5 separate regions of the Homo sapiens genome follow, and regions 2, 3, 4 and 5 are each linked to region 1. The links are contacts of gene promoters, found by promoter capture Hi-C in blood cells and fetal thymus (Javierre and others, 2016). All regions are on one chromosome and are shown on one strand. The core of a region is centred on a gene start or on the middle of the fragment in contact, and the rest is flanking DNA. Distances in the headings are between cores, read along the strand shown. Region 1 holds the start of IKZF2 (IKAROS family zinc finger 2). Region 2 has its middle 130 kb from the start of ERBB4. Region 3 has its middle 51 kb from the start of LINC01878. Region 4 overlaps LINC01878 (long intergenic non-protein coding RNA 1878). Region 5 has its middle 41 kb from the start of LINC01878.

Evidence for each region. Contacts are between HindIII fragments. The CHiCAGO score rates a contact against its expected background, and 5 or more counts as called.
Region 2: a contact is called between a fragment that was not itself captured here and the fragment with the promoter of IKZF2 in region 1, in 1 of 17 cell types (erythroblasts). The highest score is 5.1, in erythroblasts.
Region 3: a fragment that was not itself captured here is called in contact with the fragment with the promoter of IKZF2 in region 1 in 2 of 17 cell types (erythroblasts and naive B cells); the score reaches 6.2 in erythroblasts.
Region 4: a fragment that was not itself captured here is called in contact with the fragment with the promoter of IKZF2 in region 1 in 7 of 17 cell types (total B cells, M0 macrophages, erythroblasts and 4 more); the score reaches 10.4 in total B cells.
Region 5: a fragment that was not itself captured here is called in contact with the fragment with the promoter of IKZF2 in region 1 in 2 of 17 cell types (total B cells and M0 macrophages); the score reaches 5.6 in total B cells.

The regions. Positions count from the first base shown.
Region 1 is chr2:213,150,189-213,152,861 of GRCh38, reverse strand. IKZF2 (IKAROS family zinc finger 2) reads left to right here and starts at 1,250. Exons shown (of 9, transcript NM_001387220.1): 1 at 1,250-1,449; 2 at 2,615-2,673. RefSeq lists silencers at 660-1,019, 1,100-1,159. The HindIII fragment of the contact is 7,158 bases long and covers 1-2,673 here.
Region 2 is chr2:212,664,354-212,667,026 of GRCh38, reverse strand. No RefSeq gene overlaps it. Among named protein-coding and RNA genes, the nearest start is that of ERBB4, 130 kb to the right of the region's middle. The HindIII fragment of the contact is 4,092 bases long and covers 1-2,673 here.
Region 3 is chr2:212,743,024-212,745,696 of GRCh38, reverse strand. No RefSeq gene overlaps it. Among named protein-coding and RNA genes, the nearest start is that of LINC01878, 51 kb to the left of the region's middle. The HindIII fragment of the contact is 2,067 bases long and covers 265-2,331 here.
Region 4 is chr2:212,816,198-212,818,870 of GRCh38, reverse strand. LINC01878 (long intergenic non-protein coding RNA 1878) reads right to left here. Exons shown (of 5, transcript NR_131941.1): 3 at 1,864-1,948; 4 at 1,383-1,480. Among named protein-coding and RNA genes, the nearest start is that of LINC01878, 22 kb to the right of the region's middle. The HindIII fragment of the contact is 874 bases long and covers 904-1,777 here.
Region 5 is chr2:212,835,263-212,837,935 of GRCh38, reverse strand. No RefSeq gene overlaps it. Among named protein-coding and RNA genes, the nearest start is that of LINC01878, 41 kb to the right of the region's middle. The HindIII fragment of the contact is 5,538 bases long and covers 1-2,673 here.

The DNA of each region.
Region 1 (2,673 bases), core at 1-2,500:
ATCTGTGATATGGTTTCTCAGGAACACCGTTTGGCAGTCCTGATAATTTCATGTGTTTTCAAATTTCAGCCATCCAGACTACACAGTTCACTATTTTCAGCTCCTTTCATTTTCCTTTTCCCTTTAATTATAGAAGTCTCTATTCCCTCTTTTCGCAAATGTGGTCAGGAAAGATACTAAATGCTACTATTTGTAGAAAGAATATGCATTTGTTTTTCTCTTGACGGTTCACTTAAGTTCTTTCCAAATAAACAAGCTGTGGTTGATAGTGATAGGTAACACTTCAAGGGTAGCAACTTTTTGTACTCATCCGTTCCTTTGACTTTGGAAGACGTGGCACATGCCCCGGGGGAGAAAAAGCAAGTCAACACTTTAGTTTTTAAACTTGCACTGTTAAAGCACTTTCAAAATAGTAATAGTTGAGCTTCATCTCAGACATGAATGTCTTTCTCAGTCTATTCCCCAGGACCCCTCTTATCCCGCTTCAGGTCCCGGTCAATGCGGTGCGCTTTCCGAAATGGGGCCGCAGAGTTGCCGGCGGAGACCAGTAGGTGGGAGGCTCCACGCACACTCCCCGACTCGGCCGGGACGCGGCTCCCGGACTCCGCGCAGGGCGCCAAGATCGCCGCCCCGCTCCCTTCCCCCGGCCTCCCCACCAATCCCAGTTTGAAAGAAAACTTCACGCGGCCGAAATGAACGTCACCTCACCGCTCCAAGCCTCCAGCCGGCAGAAAACGTGAGATTTATTATGACACGGGGAGGGGAGATGGGGGTCGCCGTGGCACACTCGGAAGCGGGTTACCTGGCCCCCGTCGGGGGCGGGGTCCGCAGTCCGGGGACCAACGGGCTGGGGGCGACGCGGCCGGGCGCGCGGGTGGGCGCGAGGGAGTGCGCGCGTCGCGGAGCCTCCGGGGCAGCACTTGTCCTGTAATCGATTGCCGAGCGCGCCGAGCGGCTTAGCGCGCAGACACGCGCACACGCGCCCGCCAGCCCGCGCGCGCGCGCACACGCGCTCTCATACACACACGCACAGGCGCTCGGGCCCCGCACACACGCACGCGCGCGCACGCACGTCCGCTCGCCCGCGCCCGGGGCTCCGCTGCCCGCCGCCAGCCGCCCGCCGCCGCCGCCGCCGCAGCCGCCGCCAGCCCGCCCTCCGCCCGCGGGCGTCTGCGCGAGCCCGGCCGGCGGGGGAGATGTGCTCGGGCTCCACCGGATCGGTTTCTCGGGGTTTGACCAGCTGTCCCGGGCTAACCCTGCTCCTCGCTGAAGATGGAGGAAGTAAAAACAGGATTACCCTTAGCTACAGATCCACTGCCTTAGTTTCCACCACCAACTGCAGTGCACAAACACACGTTAGGCACAGGAAAGAAAGAAAGACAGAGGACACATTAACAGTAAACACAAACAAAAGGGTGATGGGATTATTTTACTGCATGCACTGCTGAGGTAAATCTCCGCTTGGCTTTTGCGTGGTGAAGAACAGCTCTTGTTTTGTCTTCTGATTCATAGATTATATATAAATATGTGTATGATTTGCAAAGGGGGGAGTGTTTTCAAAGTTAAGTGTAATTATATAGCATCTCGTTTTGCACTGTGATGTGATCAAATGACTTGTTGCTGTTAACCAGTAATAATAATAATAATATAGGTATTTTTCTCTGGGAGGGATGGATTGTGGTTCTGATTAGGGTAATGATTTTTGTAAAGGACGCTCAGGGAATCGGGTTGAAGATGATGTCCTCTGCCTTAATTTATCGTCCCCTCCTTGTAATCTGTTTCTGGGATGTTAATCGATTAATCAGTTCTCATCTCTATAGCTGTCATGAATTTGGACTTGTTTTGCTTTGTTTTAACTTGAATTCCAAGAAGAAAGATTGGGTAGGCTGGAATAAATTGAAGCTGTCCAGATAGAAGGTAATATCCAGATCCTGTTGGAATTAAAAAAAAAAAAAAACCAAAAACCCTGGTATGACACATGTAAACAGGCAGCAGTTAAATCACTTTGACAGGTTCTAGTATGGGCGAAAGAGATGGAATTAAGATTTATTTATTTTTTTTCTTTTTTGCCAAGGGCCAAAAACAGTCCTGTGAAGTTGGCCTGGGTTCCTAGCTGGGTTCTGCCTGACTGTCCCTCCCCTCTACCCGCCCCCCCCCCCTTTTCTTTCAGTTTTCTTGTCTTAGCTTTTGGTCGATTCTTAAGGAACCGGTGGATCAAGTTTTTTCTCTTGTTAATCGCATTGCTATAGCACTGACTGACCTCTCTCTCTCTCTTTTTTTTCCTCTTTCCTGAAAGTACGTGGTGCCATTCCTGAGTGACTTTTCCTACTAGACCATCCCTAAGGGACGAGGGGGAGGGGTGGAAGGAGGAGGAGGAGGAGGACGAGGAGGAGGAGGAGGAGGAGGGGGGTGTTCTTCTCTCTCATTTCTTGGTTTTGTTTATCAGCCGATCTGTTTGCTGGATTTGGGCTTGGAATGACCCACCTGTAAAGTGCTTTTCCTTCCTCCTCCCCTTGAACTCTGCAGGGGGCTTGGCTTGGAGGGGGCAAGGGAGGGAAAGAGAGAAGGGGGAAACACAAAAAACTTCTTTCTTTCTCCCTCCGTTTATCTTCAGCCCGACATTGTCACCTCCTCTTTGAGGGGTTAGAAGAAGCTGAGATCTCCCGACAGAGC
Region 2 (2,673 bases), core at 72-2,571, 490 kb after region 1:
GTCTATTGACCTGATTCGAAAATGAACTTGAATGCCGAAGATTGTTTGCCAGTTCAACCTTGGAGAAGCTAAAGGAAGCCTCTTACTCTTTCCATTCTTTTCTCCCACTCTAATCTAATCTATTTCTGATTTATATCCAAATGCCATGGAGGATAGAGGTTCATAATTCTGCCAGATGGATTAAACAGATGAATGGAACAAGCCAGCATCTTTCATTCTAACCTTCTTGCTTACTTTGACCTTTTCCCTCACCACCAGTGATATTTCATTCTTTTATAAGAATTTGTTCCAGAGCTTGAGCAACTAGAATCCTGTTGAGGGTTTGGAATCTAAGGAACTGAATTTCAGAATGACTATGAAAAGTTATGTGAGACTCTCAACCCCATTTCAAGGATAAGTCTTCAAAGTCTTTATCATGTTCTTACCTATTGATTCTCTTCATCCTGAGATAGTGTTGACCTCAACCTACTCCCATCTTGTTTCATTTCCTACTCTCCCTTTTAGTCCACTGAAATATGGTGATCATGATTCCTCCACAGGCCCAGGGTGTCTGTGTCTCAAAGTCTTCAGCCACTAGATCATCACCTGAGGCCAGATGGCTACATGTGGAGGTGGTACTCCAGGTGGATTATAGGCAGGCCAAGCACCTTGGTTAGAGACATGGGAAAAGCAGGGGCTCCCAAACATAAGATAAAATGTAAATATTCATAGTAATAACAAATGTTTATTCAAGACTTACTATGTGCCTGGTACTAGTCTAAGCACTGGACATACAGAAGAACTTGGTTAACTTTCACAGCAGTCCTATGACAGATATACTATTATCCTCAGGAGAAAAAGGCACAAAGAGGCTAATTACTGTCCAAGTCACAGAGTGAGTAAGTGGCTCAGCAGGAATTTGGACTCAAGCCATCTGAATCCAGAGTCCAGACTCTTAATCTCACCTTCCAAATAAAAGAATTAGATATTTCAGGGGGAAAAGTATTGAGTAAAATAAGATCCTGGTGGGCCTAGCCATTATTTTCAAGCCTGGAATTATTTTAATATTTAGTTTATCACGGAAGCATATCAGGAAAGCACTAAACTCTCTTCTGTGTTTGGGTTCTAGTGTTTTTAATCTAACCTTGGACTATTATGCTGTGAGGCGTTGGGCAGTTTCTCTGATCCTCAGTTTCTTGTTTTGTATAAAAGGGCATTAAAATATTCATTCTACAGGGGTGTTTGGGAGGACAAAGGTAAAATATTTGCATCATACTGTAGTGCAGTAGCACATTATATATACTGTTGGGCAGTTTCTCTGATCCTCAGTTTCTTGTTTTGTATAAAAGGGCATTAAAATATTCATTCTACAGGGGTGTTTGGGAGGACAAAGGTAAAATATTTGCATCATACTGTAGTGCAGTAGCACATTATATATACTCAGCAAATGATAAGGATAATAAATAATAGCTGTCATTTAATAATTGATTATTAGGTGACAGGCAATGCCTATATATTATCTCAAGTACTCATATGGAGGCACACTTATGGAAAAGCACTATCAAGTTAATAATATTTAAATCCCTATGGTAGGACTTATGTTCCTTTCTGTTTCCTGTTTTTTTTGTTAGCAAGGCTTATTACAGGAGTACTGAGTATCCCCCAAATATTTGACTATGTATACTTCTCTAAAAGAATTATTCCTAGATCACTAACCTTTAAGAAAACAGAAGAGAGTACCATCTGCATGTCAGCCTTATAGAATAGAAACTTTGTACTAGAAAGTATGACTGGCTAATTTAATTCTCTCAGAATGTTTATTCAGGTTTTCTTATAGCTCAGTTTCAAAAGGATTCTGGTCTAAGAATGAATATGTAGAAGGTGTTTGGATTGTTTGTTTTTGGAGTGATTTCTGTTTACAATAAGATGAAAATTTAATGAAAAGAAATGTGATTTTTCTGAAGCACTACTGACATGCTTTAACTCTAACTGGTAGGTATAAATTAATGTGAAAAAGGGCAATACATTTTTAAATCTTACATAAAATGGAGGTATCTAAACTTTATTTCTTCTTTGAGTGCTAGGAAAGCTATAGACAGTAATGAAAATAGTGCTACTGTTCCCTCTGCCAGCATCATTCTTGGAGCTTTGACATTTGAATTCACAAGTTAGCTTTTATTTTTAACAGTTGTTGAAAATATATATTTTTAAACTCAGAAGTAATTCCCTTTTTCCTAGCAATTTACTTGTGGCATTTAGTCGCATGATTTTTACCTTCATTGAATTTTACCTAGAATTATTTGGAAATGTTAACTATCGGGAAAAAAGCATTCCATAATTTCTAATGGGTTATGCCACTAAGTGATCCAATCTAGAACATGAGTGTATGTGTGTGTATTTGTGTGTGTATATTTGTGTGTATGTGTGTGTGTGCATGTGTGTGTATGTTGACATAGTTGTTCTAATTGAGGTAGCTAATTTATTGTTCAGTATTCAAGGGAAAAAGGTATAAATGCAGAAAATGTTCACTATGAACTTGCCAATAATTCAGATATAAATTATTTCATATAGCAGAAGTTCATAAAAATATAGATAGTACAGAACAAAAACCAGTGGAGAAAAAAAACTGAATTAAATTAAGCACCAGCAGCAGCACATTAAATTGCATTAGGATTGACAAGAGAGTTTTCGTAT
Region 3 (2,673 bases), core at 49-2,548, 410 kb after region 1:
TTTTTATCCTTTTGCTTCCATTGAGAGAGATCTTTACAGAAAGAAGTCTCATCATAACACTCTCTTATGCAAAACACTTCAAAGTCATAGCATGAAACCTGAATAGAAAATCATGTGTGGGGTACATCACATTCTGTCCCTACTTCCCTATTTAGTCTCTTTACTCTCATCTACTGCCACTCTCCACCTAATAGCCTCAGCTCTATTCAAACTGAATTACTTGGAGCTCCCTAAATATGTCATACTCTTCTTCTCCTCTAAGCTTTTGTGTAGGTTGCAACTCTGCCTAGAACATCTTACCACTTGTCTCTATCTGATGCAGTTTTATTTGCTGTTCAGGAGCCAGTTGAGACATCACCTTTTTTGGGAACCTAACTTTAACCTTTCCCTCCTACTCCTAACCTAAGGCTTTGTTAGATGTGTCTTAGCACCCCATATTTACTCTTTAGTAAATACTTACCCTACTGTGTGAATGAATGATTTAATTACCTTTTTAGCTTATAACTCTATGCAGAAAATAATTATTTAATTAGTCTCATCTACTGCCTATGATGTTTATGTGTCTAGATGTGACAACAACCACAAACCCAAAGGAACAAGTAAATTACACTCAGATCATATCAGACAGTATAAAATGGCACACATGCATAGCAAAGGATATGATTGTTCTGTATTAATCTGATGGATGCTAAGTTATTAGTTAAAACAATTCCTTACTACAGTAGTACTAAAAATAGTTGCATTTTATCCACCTTGTGACTCTGGTGACATCAGAAATGTAGCTTAAAGTTATATTCAAAAGTGTTTTGTTTTCCTTTTTAAAATTGGTTTCCAGCCTCAGAAATTTTTGTTTTATTCCATTGTAGCAATTTCTTTTGTACTGCTATACATATTCTCAAAGTAAAAATGTATCTTTTCCACTTTCTCCTATTTTGTTAGTCTTTGCTTTGGATAACTGAGGCTGACATCAAGGTTTTCAACCATTAGAGTGAAATTGGGTGATTTCCCTTTTGCAGTAAGGAATTTGCTACATATTCAATATTTTCTAAAAATTCAGTTTTGGTTCTAAGCATTTAAGGCAAGATGATTCAATTCTCTTTTAACACAGTTTTATTTTTATTAACTCAATTATTTTTGCAAAGTTTTTATTTGCTCTCTTTGTTAGTGGGACAGTTGATTGTCTTATTGATTTTTTATTTCTTCTCTTCTGGTGGAAAGTGACTATTTCTCTCTTGGAGAGGCATGTGTTCCAAATATTTATTGATGTAAAACAAACCACCTCATCTTAGTGGTATAAACAATAATCATTTTATGATCACAGATTATGTGTTTCAGAAATTGAGAAAGGGTACAGCGAGTGTCTTAATTGGTCCTGTGCTGCCATAATAGAATATGACAAACTGGATAAATTTTTTTTTTAAAAGAAGTGTATTTGGCTCATGATTCTGAAGGCTGGGAAGCCTAAGATCAAGGGCCCATAGCTGGTAAGGGCCTTCTTGCTATGTCATAACATGGCAGGAGGGCAAGTGAGCATTGTAGACAGAAAGAGGAAATCAGGCCAAACCCATCCTTTTATCAAGAGCCCACTCCCAGGACAACTAAGCCACTCTAGAGGTAATGGCATTAATCCATTCATGAGGGCAGAGGCCTCATGACCTAATCACCTCTTAAAGACCCTACCTTTCAGTACTGTTACAATTGTAATTAAATTTCAACATGAATTATGTAGGAGACAATCAAACTGTACCTATAAGCATGGCTTGTTTGGGGCTTCAAATGAAAAAATTCAGAGAAGATTAGATAGCTGGGGAATGGATTAATTTTTAGACTTCTTTACTCACATTTCTGGGGGTTGATGTTGACTATTTGGAGGACTTTAGCTGGTAGTGTTGGTCAGAACAAGATGAGGTAACCCCAACATGGGTAAGATTGGACCTCTTCACACTGTGGTGGCAGTGTTCATAGAAATAATGTTTCAAAAATACCAACCAACCAACCAAACAAAAAACAAATAAACAAACAAAAAACCAAGATGGAAATGCATGGCATTTTTATGATCTGATCATGGAAATCGTTTCAACATACTCTTTTGGGGGATGTGCTCACAAATGTCAGCTGAAATTCAAAGGGAGGAGACTTAGACCTCACCATTAGCTGTCACATTGTAAGAAGAGTCTGTCAGATGAGTTATATTGCAGTGGCCCTCTTTGGAAATTACAATGTCTCAGCATACATTCAATACAATATAGCTTCTGGCAAGGCAAATGTATCATTGTGAATCTGTTTAATTTCAGCTTTAATTTCAGGCATTTAAAAAGCGTTTCTAAAGCTTTTATTTAGGATGATACAAGTAATAGGTATTCATTTAAAAAAGCTTGAAAAATACACAGAAGGAATAAAGTAGAACTATTTGCCACGATTTACTTGCTAACAATTTTCTAATGTCAATGATTTTTTTCATGTGTCAGTTACTTTAGATAATGCCATAATAAACATTTTTTTCATAAATCTTTGACTACTTCTTGATTTCCGTAACATGTATTTCTAGAGGTGAAATTACTACAACAATGGTGTTTATAATCATTGTACAGAAAAACAACCCTCAACCACAGCCAGTATTTGTTTTCATTAATACATTGTTTAATAATTTGTTGGCAGTATATTATAGGTGTC
Region 4 (2,673 bases), core at 91-2,590, 330 kb after region 1:
TGCTGTTTTGTCACCTGCTCATGTCCTCTCCTCTCTGCCATTTCCTTCTCCACTGCACCTCCTACCCCAAGCTGACCCCATCAGGTGAGGTCGGCAGAAAACAGAAGCCTAATTCAAACCATTGCACTATGTTACTGTATCTCATAACTAAAAATATTAACATTAAAAAAGTTAGACATCTTTAACTACCTGAACCTCACATTTTTCATTTGACCGATGACTATTATAGCAACAGTCCTTAGTACCTCAAAGTTTGTTATTGTGACTAGAACATGAAAGAACTAAAAAAGTAAAACTTTAAATGAATGTAAACCATTATTGAGATGTAAGGGTGGTAATAGGTATAGGTACTATTTCACATTAAAGTAAAAGTACAGTAATAGGAAAAATGATGTACTATCCTGGCCACTCTAAATATTTTTACTATATTAATATGGTTTTCAGAAAAATTTTAGTATAAGATAACGGCTGTCATTTTTGCCTATCAGCTCAGCTTTAGTTTTGAGTTTAATTCATTCAGGCTAGAAAACCACGGCAATGATCAAAGATATAATTATAACATATTTATAGCCTATTATTATTGTAACATTCTGAAGCAAAGGGCAAAAATTCCACCCAGTGAACTTGTTCTTCCTGTTACTGACACAAGATTGAGACATTTAAATGCTAAGACATGGATCCCTGAGGCAGAACATAAAATATTTATAATGAAGGGAGTATGAGCCAATAAATTTCAGTTATGAATGTTTTTAGCTAGAAGAAATAATAAATAACTTTCCACAGGCAATATTTCAGTTTGCATTTATTGTACCTCATCATACCAGATTTTCAGGAAACAATAATGATTGCATAGTAGGACACTAAATTACTCTCATGTTTAATGAACGATTAAACTGTTAAGCTTTGATTAAGATACAAGAGCCTCCCTAATTTGACTGTGAGAAGTGGTTTCCTTGGAAAGGTATAGATCGTGATAATACCAATAAAGAGATTTTAATTTATATACTTTCTATTGAATAAAAGTAATTTCAGATATAAGTAAGCCATGTAAAAGGATTACCAAACTCATAGGTTTAGGGAAGAAGGGAAAGGAGAGCATTTAAGTAATAGGGAAATGAATTATGTACTTGGGATGTCTTATCTCTAATCCATTTAAACAGTTTTAAAATTGGGTTGGGAAAATGGCCTAAATTACACACAATGATACATAAAAATTGCTAGGACAAGTCAGGCGCAGTGGCTCTTGCTTGTAAACCTAGCACTTTGGAAGGCCAAGGCAGGAGGATCACTTGAGCTCAAGAGTTTGAGATTAGCCTGAGCAACATAGTGAGCCCTTGTCTCTACAAAAAATTTAAAAGTTAGCTGGGCATGGTTACACGTGCCTGTAGTCCCGGTGACTCCAGAGGCTGAGGTGGGAGGATTGCTTGATCCCAGGAGGTAGAGGCTGAAGTGAGCCATGATTGCATCACTGCACTCCAACCTGGGTGACAGAGAAAGACACTGTTTCAAAAAAATTAAAATTAAGAAAATAAAAATTGCTAGGAGATATTGTGGTACCTGGGAAATAATGCAAGATGAGAGGCAGAAGACTTAAATCAGAGTTCTGCCTTTGTAACTTACTAGCTGTGTGACTCTGTACAAGTCAGTTATCTTGTTAGACTCTCCCGTTTCTTTATTTATGAGACAACAACAAGAAGACATATCTTGCATAGTTGTTGTAAATATGAAGTGAGATATCAGCCTGGGCTCTCCAGGAAGCAGAACCTGAGTGCAAGCTTGTTATCGGCTTTTGTGATCCTGGAAAAAGGTAGGAATGAGGGACAGGGAAACCAGGCCAAGAAGGAGAGAGAGCCAATGACTTGCCAGTAGATGGTGGTTATAAGTGCCACTTTCCCAATCACGAAGAGATTGAGAACTGTCACATGAAATGTCAATCAGGATCATCCATCTAGGGGAATAAAAAGATAATTTATTAACTCTTATTTCCTTCCCGCATTGATCACCCATGCAGTGTGTTATGGGCTGAATTGTTTCTGTCCCCGTCCTTGATTTATATGTTGAAGTCTTAACTTTCAATACCTCAGAATGTAACTCTATAGGGTAACTATGTTGGATATAAGGTCTTTAAAGTGGTGATTAAGTTAACATGAGGCCCTTAGGGTAAGCCCTAATCTAATATGACTGGTGTCCCTATATAAAAAGAGGAAATGTGGACACACAGAGGGACACCATGGGGTTTGTATGCAAGAGGGAAAGACCAGGTGGCCATCTGCAAACTAAGGAGAGAAGCCTCAGAAGAAACCAAACCTGCTGACACCTTAATCTTGGACTTCTCGCCTCCAAAACTGTGAGAAAATACATTTCTGATAGTGAAGCCACCCAGCCTGTGGTCTTTTGTTACGGCAGCCTTAACAAACTGATAGAGGGTGTTAACTTTCCCACACTCTGGGTGGTACATGTGTAAATGGAGAGTGGATTTTATTCCTGGTCCCAAGCTGAGGTGTCAACAGAATAGCCCCAAGTGGGAAATGAGAGGTAGATTCTTGGGGTGAAGTGCTGTCATGCTGCACCTAAGCCCTCACAGATCAGGTGGTCAAGTTGGTGTCTGGAACAGGACAGATACAACTAAGAAAACCTGAAAAGGTGCACAAAAGGTATTAATACAATATACAA
Region 5 (2,673 bases), core at 102-2,601, 320 kb after region 1:
GAGATGGAAACTTCTCCGGTGAAGATGCTCTGAACATTGCTGAAATGACAATAAAAGATCTAAAATTTTACATAAACTTAGTTTATAAAGCAGTATGCAGGGTCTGAGAGTATTGATTCAATTTTGAAAGAAGTTCTACTGTGAGTAAAATGCTGTCAAACAGCACTGCATGCTACAGATAAATATTTTGTGAAACAAAGAGTCAATTGATACAGCAACTTCAACGTTATATTTTAAGAAACTGACACAGCCACCTCAACCTTCAGCAACTACTACCCTGATCAGTCAGTAGCCATCAATATGGAGGCAAGACCTTCCACCAACAAAAAGATTACAACTTGCTAAAGGCTCGGATGATAGCTAGCATTTTTTGGCAATAAAAATTTTTAAATTAACTTATGTCCATTGGGTTCTTTAGACTTACTTCTGTTGCACACTTACTGGACTATAGTAGCGTGTAAATCTAACTTTTGTATGCACTGAGAAACCAAAAAATCCATGACTTGCTTTGAGACATTCGCTTTATTGTGGTGGTCTGGAACCAAACCCACAGTATCTCTGAGGTATGCCTATTAAGACCTTCCCAAACAAACAAAAATAGGAGAAAATTTGTTGCCAGTAAACCTGCCTTGCAAAAAATGTTAAAAGAAGTTTTTCAGAGAGGATAATAATATAGGTCAGAAATTTTGCTTCACATAAAGAAGAGCATCAGAGAAGGAATAAGTGAAGGTAAACAAAAAAGAACTTATTTTTCTCTACTTAATTGGTTGAATATACAACAGTTTGTTAAAAATAATAATAGCAGGCTGGGCACAGTGGCTCACGCCTGTAATCCCAGCACTTTGGGAGGCCAAGGTGGGCGGATCACGAGGTCAGGAGATTGAGACCATCCTGGCTAACACAGTGAAACCCCAGATCTACTAAAAATACAAAAAATTAGTGGGGCGTGGTGGCGGGCGCCTGTAATCCCAGCTACTCAGGAGGCTGAGGCAGAAGAATGGCGTGAACCCAGGAGGCAGAGGTTGCAGTGAGCTGAGATCGCACCACTGCACTCCAGCCTGGGCTACAGAGTGAGACTCCGTCTCAAATAAATAAATAAATAAATAAAAATAATGGCAATAATGTATTTAGTGATTGTAACTTATGGATAACCTTGCACTATCCATGAGGCAGTATAGTGTTATTCAAAAGTAGATTTGGATTAGATGCAAATGTATATTGAAAATGCCAGAGCAACCACTAAAAAAAAGTAAGTAAATAAATAAGTATACTATAGGTGATATGCTAAGGAGAAAAAAAATGGAACCACACAAAATGCTCAGTTAAACCACAGAAGAGTGGAAGAATAAAAAACAATGAATAGAATGCAGTAATATGGAAGATATTAATCCAACAATATCAATAATTAAACATCAATTGTCATTAACACAAAAAGAGATTGTCAGAGTGGATCAAAAGACCCAACTATATATTGTCTACAAGAAACGCACTTTAAATATAAAGACATATCAAGATTAAACATAAAGGGATGGAGAAAGATATAATAACTCGAATCAAAAGAAAACTCAGTAGCTACATTAATTTTAGATACAGCAGACTTCAAAGCAAGGAATGTTATCACAGATAAAGACGGACTTTACATAATGATAAAAGGAGTCAATTCTTCAAGAAGACAGAACAATCCTTAAAGCGTATGCACCGAACAACAGAGCATTAAAATACACGAGGCACAAACTTATAAAACTCCAAGGAGAAATAGAGGAATACACTATTATAGTTGGAAACTTCAACACTTATCAGTAATGGACAGATTCAGCAGCCAGAAAATCAGTAAAGACATAGTTGAACTCAACAGCACTATCAATCAACTGGATATAAATGGCATCTATAAAATACTTCATCCAACAACAGCAGACGACACATTCTTCTCAAGCTCACATGGAACATTCACCAAGACAGACCACATTCTTGGCCATAAAACACACCTCAACAAATTTAAAAATAAAAATCATACAATGTCTGCTCTCAAATCCCTCAGTAAAATTAAACTAGATACCAGTAACAGAAAGGTAGTTTGAAGATCCCCAAGTACTGGGAGATTAAACAACACACTTGTAAATAACACTTGGATCAAAGAAGAAATCTTGAGAGATCTCAAAGACAATATTGTCAATATGTTAGTTCTTCCTAACTTCATCTATAGATTCAATGTAATCTCAAGGGAACTTGCAGCAAACTCTCTGTGAACATTGACAGATTGATACTAACATTTACATGGGGAGGCAAAAGACCCAGAGTAGCCAACACAATATTGAAGGAAAACTAAGTCAGAGTACTGACACTACTTGACTTCATGCCTTACTATAAACTTCCAGTAATCAAGATAGTGCAGTATTGGCAAAAGAACAGACAGGTCAATAGAACGGAATAGTGAACACAGAAATAGATAGCCACAAATATAGTCAACTGATCTTTGACAAAGGAGCAAAGGCAACATAATGGAGAAAAGACAGTCTTTTCAACAAACAGTGCTGAAGCAACTGGACATCTGCATGCAAAAATAATCTGCATGCAAAAATAAATACATAAATCTAGACACTACCTTATACTTTTCAGAAAAACTCCAAAACACTGATAACAGCAAATGATTCCAAGGATGTGGATGGGAATGCA